3 separate regions of the Homo sapiens genome follow, and regions 2 and 3 are each linked to region 1. Evidence: promoter capture Hi-C in human tissues and cell types (Jung and others, 2019). All regions are on one chromosome and are shown on one strand. Each heading gives the region's core, a stretch centred on a gene start or on the middle of the fragment in contact. The rest is flanking DNA. Distances are from core to core; before and after follow the strand shown.

Evidence for each region. The method cuts DNA at HindIII sites, captures the fragments that hold promoters and counts their contacts. A contact is called where the count stands out against the background at its distance.
Region 2: a fragment that was not itself captured here is called in contact with the fragment with the promoter of MRPS10 in region 1 in 1 of the 25 tissues and cell types used here (aorta).
Region 3: a fragment that was not itself captured here is called in contact with the fragment with the promoter of MRPS10 in region 1 in 1 of the 25 tissues and cell types used here (aorta).

The regions. Positions count from the first base shown.
Region 1 is chr6:42,216,411-42,219,110 of GRCh38, forward strand. It overlaps MRPS10 (mitochondrial ribosomal protein S10), which reads right to left and starts at 1,451. Exons shown (of 7, transcript NM_018141.4): 1 at 1,392-1,451. The coding sequence starts at 1,439. RefSeq lists enhancers at 1-165, 166-767, 1,339-1,618. The HindIII fragment of the contact is 13,512 bases long and covers 1-2,700 here.
Region 2 is chr6:42,524,316-42,527,015 of GRCh38, forward strand. No RefSeq gene overlaps it. Among named protein-coding and RNA genes, the nearest start is that of UBR2, 38 kb to the right of the region's middle. The HindIII fragment of the contact is 9,731 bases long and covers 1-2,700 here.
Region 3 is chr6:42,594,448-42,597,147 of GRCh38, forward strand. The region is part of intron 4 of UBR2 (ubiquitin protein ligase E3 component n-recognin 2); the gene reads left to right. Among named protein-coding and RNA genes, the nearest start is that of UBR2, 32 kb to the left of the region's middle. The HindIII fragment of the contact is 7,676 bases long and covers 1-2,700 here.

The sequences.
Region 1 (2,700 bases), core at 201-2,700:
TGTTGGGGGAGTGGTGGTTTGGAAGGGAGGGCTGTCTGGGTAAATTTGTCTTAATAAAGCAGTTCAAAAATTTCAATCTCTAATACCATCTGACTTTTCTCAAGAACAGTGGTTTTCAGGCCGGGTGCGGTGGCTCAAGGCTGTAATCCCAGCACTTTGGGAGGCCGAGGCTGCCGGATCACTTGAGGTCAGGAGTTCGAGACCAGCCTGACCGACATGGTGAAACCCCGTCTCTGCTAAACATACAAATACTAGCTGGGCATGGTGACGCATGACTGTAATTCCAGCTGCTCGGGAGGCTGAGGTAGGAGAATCACTTGAACCCGGGAGGTGGAGGCTGTAGTGAGCCGAGATCGTGCCATTGCGCTCCAGCTTGGGCGACAAGAGCGAAACTCCGTCTCCAAACAAAAACAAAAACAAAAACGGTGGTCTCAAAGTGTAGTCTGAGGACGTCTGTGGGGTCTGAGACACTTTCAGGGGATCCGGGAAATCAAAACTATTTTCATAAAACCAAAACGTCATTTACAACTTTTCCACTCATTCTCTTACCAGTGTACAGTGAAGTTTTCCCGTGACAGCCTGAGGTGTGATATAGGAAAAGATTAAATACAGAAGCAGATTTGAATCTAGCTTTTATTAAGCCAGAAATTAAAGAGAGCTGCAAAAATGTAAAACATTGCTGCTCCTTACTCAGTTTGTTCAGAAAATATATTTTTCATAAAGTATTAGTTGTAACATGTAATGAGTTAGTGTTACTTTTAAATCAATATATATTCTTAAGTTTTATTTTCCAAAAAGCTAAATATAGATAGCAAAAACCCACAAAAACAAAAGCTCTCTGGAGTCCTGAACTCCGAAAGTGTAAAGTGGTCCCAAGGCCAAAAAGCAGGAGAACCGCTGCTGAAAAGTTTTTGCTCCTCCTGCAAATAACTGCGCAGAGGATATCTAACCCACTTCTCTGGCTTGAGACCTTCATCTAAATTTGGATGCCAGGAAAGCATCTCAATTTAGTTCCATGGGAAGAGTCTGATATCTTGCACCAGCTCAGCCTCTAATTTTCGCGAGGCAAATTTCCTGTCTTCTCTGAGCCTCAGTTTATTTTGCAAGCGTGAAAGGAGGGGTTTTGGAACATACGAAGTACAAAATCTTTTCCAGCTCTGACATTCTACGATTATTCTTGTTCCTATCTTTGCCTGGACTCACTAACTTATATTTAATTCCATGAGAGAATTCTGATAAAACTAGCCCCTTTCTCGTCACTTTCCTGTAAACGGCGCGAGGTGAGGGATAAATATCAGGAAAAATCCTGATGGGCAGAGCGGCTGGTGGCAGGGAAACTTAAAAGCAACTATCCCGGTCAGCCCTCCTAGTCTCCCTAGCCAATCCAGTACCTGCCAGAGGCGCCGGCACACAGCACCGAACGCTGTCCGCGCCGCCATCTTGCCGGTCCCGACCTCTCAGGATTGCTTCCGGGGTTACAGCGGCGTCCTCAGACCATAGAGTTCCGCAAAAGAAGAGAGTACATCCTCATGTTCCGGCGCTGGAACAACCATAGAGACATGAACCTGTGCTTTTTGGGGGCGGGACAGTTGGCTGGCCAGGCTGGTTTGGCTCCGGCCAGTGTCTGGATAGTTACCAAGCCCTATTAATGTTTTCACCTTTAAATTGTTGTGTGTGTATACACACACACACACACACACATTTATTTATTTACTTATTTTTTCCTTTTAGAGACTGAGTCTCACTCGGCTGCCCAGGCTGGAGTGCAGTGGCACAGTCATAGCTCACTGCAGCCTCAAACTCCTGCCTCAAGTGATCCTCCTGCCTCAGCCTCCCAAGTAGCTGGACTACAAGTGCGTGCCACCACAGCCGACTAATTTTTTGTTTTTTTTTTTAATTTTCTTGTAGAGACAGGGTCTCATTATATTGCTCTCGTTATTTTGTGGGCTGGTCTTGAATTCCTGTCCTCAAGTGATCCTCTGGCCTTGGCCTCCCAAAGGACTGAGATTACAGGCATGAACCACAAAGCCCGGACTGAAACTAGTGTATTGACACCATTTACTTCAGTACTGGAATAATGGGTGATTTATTTTCCTATTTTTGCATTTTTCAATTTTTTTTGCATTTTTCAAAATTTTAACAAAATCTATATTTAACAAGAAAAAGAAAAGTCGGCCACTACCATTGGGTCCAGTTGCCACTCAGTTACCTTATTGCAGCGGCTTTCTAATTATGGTTCTTAATCCTTTCTTCCTTCCCCACACCAATTGGAATTCCTGTGCTCCAACCATTTTGTATACCGCTGTCCTACTGATCTTTCTAAATTATTCATTTCCTTATGTTACTCTAGTATTTAGGAATTTACAATGGCTAGCTTCACTTACAACAAGCCAAAGTGTTTTGTCTAATTATTAATGTCCACCATAATTTTTTCCAAGTAAAAAGATGTATAACTGGGATTTGCTATAATAAAAACTTCTTCAGGCTGGGTGCGGTGGCTCACGCCTGTAATCCCAGCACTTTGGGAGGCTGAGGTGGGCGGATCACCTGAGGTCAGGAGTTCGAGACCAGCCTGGCCAACATGGTGAAACCCCATCTCTACTAAAAATACAAAAAATTAGTGGGGTGTCATCGTTGTGTGCCTGTAGTCCCAGCTACTCAGGAGGCTGAGGCACGAGAATTGCTTGAACCCGGGAAGTG
Region 2 (2,700 bases), core at 146-2,645, 310 kb after region 1:
TTATTCCATATCCTATATAGAATAATTCTATATATTATTCCATATCCTATATAGAATAATTCTATATATTATTCCATATCCTATATAGAATAATTCTATATATTATTCCATATCCTATATAGAATAATTCTATATATTATTCTATATAATATACAGCAGTGTATTCACGCTGCTGTAAAGATACTACCTGAGACTGGGTAACTTATAAAGGAAAGAGGTTTAATTGACTCACAGTTCTGCATGGCTAGGGAAGCCTCAGGAAACCTACAATCACGGCGGAAGGGGAAGCAAGGCACTTTCTTCACAAGGTAGCAGGACAGAGAGCAAGCAAGAGCAGGAAAAACTGCCTCATTATACCATTGGATCTCATGAGAACTCACTATCACAAGAACTTCATGGGGGAAACCACCCCCATGATCCAATCACCTTCCTCCCTCAACACGTGGGGATTACAATTCGAGATGTGATCTGGTTGGGGGACACAGAGCCAAACCATATCACACTATATGCTGAATTCTAGAATAGAGGTGCAATGGGTCGTGAGCACATAGAAGAGGAATTGTTTGACTCCATCTAGGGAAGGGAGGGGTTCAAAGCTTCTTATATAATGCTTTGGCTGCAAAGAACAGTGCCCAATTACAGTGGCCTAAGTAGTAAAGATATTTGCTATCTTACATATAAGAAGTATGGAGCTGAGAAGTCCAGGGTTAGTGTAGAATGCCATTAAGAACCAGGCTCCTTTTGTCCTGTGCATGACGGGAGAATCATTTTACTTTAAATCTCTTTATTTAAATCATTTTATTTTAAATCTTCTTCATTGTGAATTTAATATGAGCATTTCATGCTCATATTCATCATTTCTGATTCAGCAGTTCTGAATTTTTTCAGTAGATAAAATACATTTCAGGGTTTTAAAAATGTGATTAACTTACTCAGGCCAAATATGTTTACTTATCCTACGCATGTGACGCAGTACCTTTCAGTTCTGCAGTCATGACTGTACATTCCTTGATTGTCCCAAGAGTTGCTGAGTTTACCTTTATAACAACCGTTTTAGAGTCCAGAGGTAATTTCTCTCCAGCTCTAATAAAAATGACAAACTAGGTCAACTTCATTTGTCTTTGAAGTATGTTAGGAAGAAAAGGCAAGGTTGCAATTTTTTAAACTGTATTTATTTGTTTGATTACATGAGAGTAATACGTCTGTGTTCTAGAAGGTGTGGGCAATAAAGGAGGTTATGCAAGTTGGAAGTAGGAAGAAGGACAAAGGGGGCCTCCTGGAGTTGTGCAGTGCGCAACCTATGAGGCCATATGTGACAACCTTATTCTGAACACAGAGCACAGAAATAAAAATGCCCCATGACTCTACCTCCCAACAACAATATTAACATTTTGCTAAATTCAGCCCTTCTTCTAGGTATATAGTATGTTTAAATGATGTTATAATGTATAACTGCTTTATAACCTCTTTCACTTATAATTCATTATAAAAATTTTAAATACTTAAATATTCTTAAAAATATCATTCTCAATGGCACCATGTTTTATTGTTTTGTTTTGTTTGTTTGAGAACAGAGTCTCACTCTGTTACCCAGGCTGCAGTGCAGTGGTGCCATCTCAACTCACTGCAACCTCTGCCTCCCTGGTTCAAGCGATTCTCATGCCTCAGCCTCCTGAGTAGCTGGGACTACAGGTGCATGCCACCACGCCTGGCTAGTTTTTGTATTTTTTTGTAGAGACAGGATTTCGCCCTGTTGGCCAGGCTGGTCTCAGATTCCTGGTCTCAAATGATCCACCCACCTCGGCCTCCTGAAGTGCTGAGATTACAGGCATGAGCCACTGGGCCTGGCCTATTTTTTCATCCAACAAACACTTGTATGGTATTTTTATGTGAGCCAATATTTTAAGCTCATTAAAATATTAACTTGGCCAGACACAGTGGCTCACCCCTATAATCCCAGCACTTCGGGAGGCTGAGATGAATGGATTGCTTGAGCCCAGGAGTTCGAGACCAGCCAGGGCAACATGGTGAAACCCCACCTCTACAAAAAATACCAAGATTGGCCAGGCATGGCGGCATATGCCTGTAGCCCAGCTACTTGAGAGGCTGAGGTGAGAGGATCGTTTGAGCCCAGGAAATTGAGGCTGCAGTGAGCCATGCTCATGCCACTGCAGTCCAGCCTAGGCTACAGAGTGAGACCTCATCTCTAAAATAATAATAATAATTAACTCATGCGATCCTGCAGAGATATCTTTGTTTGCCCCTCCAGATGCCTCTATCCCCTCTCACCCTGCTCTGTGCCCTGGAAGGCTGATCTGAATAGACGGCAACAACAGGCTCTGTGACGTCTCCTTCTTCGGGTTTGCCCAGTGAGAGCTGTGGTAGTTTGGATTATCATTCCCAACTCTGTAATCTCTCCCTGTGTTAGGATTTTCCATGAAAGTATATGGAATATAAATATCTATTCCATTTATTTTAGGATCAGTCACATGACACACTTTGGCCAATGGGATGTTTGTAGACACCCTGAGCAGAGGACTGGAATGGAGTTTCCTTGGGTTGGCCTCTTGGCCACTCTCTCCAAAATGAGAGGCCCATGAAGCAGACCTGAATCTGACCCAAAGCCTGAAGCAGAGCAGGCCCAGTCAACTCAGAAGGAAGAAAAACAAATGTTTGTAGTTTGTAGCCACTGAGGTTTGT
Region 3 (2,700 bases), core at 71-2,570, 380 kb after region 1:
TGTGGATGCTGTACGGTTGCTAATAGTACACAGTTGAAATTTGGGAAATTTCATTTAATTCTGATTTTTTATTTGGTTGGGGTTTTGTTTTAAGCATACTTGAAGTTTATTTGAGTACTAACCTATGGTTGAGAGGATTATTTTTCCCATATGTGTAGACCAGTTAACCAAGTTGAGTTTTGTATATCTTTATTATAACAAAGACTTTTGGGGCCAGATAGCTTTCTTTTCTGTTACCATACATGACAGCCAATCCCAATCATCATCTCCTGGTTTCCATTATCATTGGTTATGTGATGGGACCATGTGTAGTGATGATAGCTCAGTACAAATAATTCCCACTGCTTACTGTGTTTTTCAAATTGTTGATCCTGCATTATTTTTCTTAAATGGATTTGTAATGGAATAGTAGAGTCCCACAAAATAAATGCTTAAATCTCTGCTGCTTTTTTTAAAACTTCAAAAACTTTCCATATATTTCTAATAACTCACTTAACTGTAATTATACAATGATTAAATCTTTCAATGGTATGCTACAATAGATTATGTTTTATTATTTTTAATTGACAATAATTGTACATATTTATGGGGTACAGCGTGATATTTATGGGGCACAGTGTGATATTTTGATACATATATACAATGTGTAATGAGCAAATCAGGGTAATTAACATATCCATCACCTCAAGCATTTAACATTATTTGGTTTTGGAAACCTTCACCATCCGCTCTTCTAGCTATTTGAAAATATACAGTAAATTGTTAATTATAGTCATGCTATAGTGCTGTAGAACATTAGAACTCATTCTTTCTATCTAGCTTTGTTCTTGTATCCGTTAGCCAACCTGTGGCAGTCCCTCTTCTGCTACATTTTATGACAATTTGTTGTATAGTTCAAGATCCTTCTTTCAGATTTTATTTTTAAATGGCAGGGGAATAGGTACACTCAAGTACGTCTACATTGTTAGTAGGCCTGATATAGATTTGGGGCAAGTGGACATCAATAGTCCTTCCTCAGCCAGGCAAGGTGGCTCATACCTATAATACCAATACTTTGGGAAGCCAAGGCGGGTGGATCACTTTAACCCAGGAGTTTGAGACCAGCCTGGGCAAATGGCAAAACCCCATCCCTACAAAAAATACAAAAATTAGTTGGGTGTTGTGGCACGTGCCTGTGGTCCCAGCCACTTGGGTTGGGGGTGCTGAAGTGGGATCCGCTTGAGCCATAGGAGGCAGAGGTTGCAGCAAGCCAAGATCATGACCCTGTCTTTAAAAAAAAAAAAAAAAAAGTTCTTCCTGGTACCCATATCCTACAGGTCTCAAATATATTTTATCAGAATGACCAAAGCTTTTGATGTACAAATCAAAATTTATACAAAATGATTCAGTGCTATGGAAAACATGTTTTGTTTTTCATTTGCTTTGTGAAAGGGTTCTGTAATTTGCTACAGTAAGATGCCAAGTGGTCAAGGTTCCAGATTTTTCCACTTCTATTGGAGAAGCTCCATTTTTATATAGTTGATTGGGGTTCTGTATGTAGAAATACAGGACAAATAAAGATATATTTGAAAAAAAAGAATTGTGCTTTAGAAAAAGGTTAAAAACCACTGGTATAAAACTTTAGGACTGCAGGAGAAAGTATATGTGTGTATATCCAAGCCATGTATCCAAAAAGGATCTAGTATGCAGAGTTTATATCTTACAACTCAGCAAGTAAAAAGATAACCCAATTTAAAAATGGGCAAAAGACTTGAATAGACATTTTTACAGAGAAGATATATGAATAATCAACAAACACATGAAAAGATGCTGAACATCATTAGTCATTAGGGAAATGCAAAATCAAAACCACAGTGAGATACTGCTTCACCCTCAGTAAGATGACTATTAAAGTAATAACAAGTATTGACAAGGATATAGAGAAATTAGAACCCTTGTATATTGCTAGTGGAAATATAAAATGATTCAGTGCTGTGGAAAACAGTTTGGCTGTTCCTCAAAATATTAAACATTACCGTATATTTCACACCTAGATATATACCCAAAAGAACTGAAAACCGAAGTTGAGCAAGTACATGCACACACATGTTGTAGCAATGTTGTTCACAATAGTCAAAAGGTAGAAACAGCCCAAATGTCCATCAGTGAATGAATGGATAAACAAATTGTGATAATATACATACAATGGAATATTTTTCGTCCATAAAAAGGAATGAAGAACTGATACATGCTACAACATGCATGAACCTCTAAAACATATTAAGTGAAAGACGCTAGACTCAAAAGGTCACATATTGTATGATTCCTTTTATATGAAATATTCAGAATAGGTAAATCTGTAGAGAGAAAAAACAGATTGGTAGTTGCCAGGGGCTGGGGAAGAGGAAAATGGAGAGAAATGGCTTAGTAGGTAAGGGGTTTTACTTTGGAGTGATGGAAATGTTTTGGAACTAGATTGTAGTAGTTGCACGTTATAATAAATGTACCAAGTACCACTGAGTTGTTCACTTTAAAATGGTTAATTTTATGTTCTGTAAATGTCATGTCATTTATTTGGAAAAGATACTTTAGGACTTCTGTTACCTTTTTTATCCCTGTGTTAGAGTAGACTTAAAATAATTTTCTAATGAAAAGTTTTGAATCTGCCTACATTTGCTCTGTTGGCTTTATCCTCATACATTAGTGGGATGGCTATCCAAC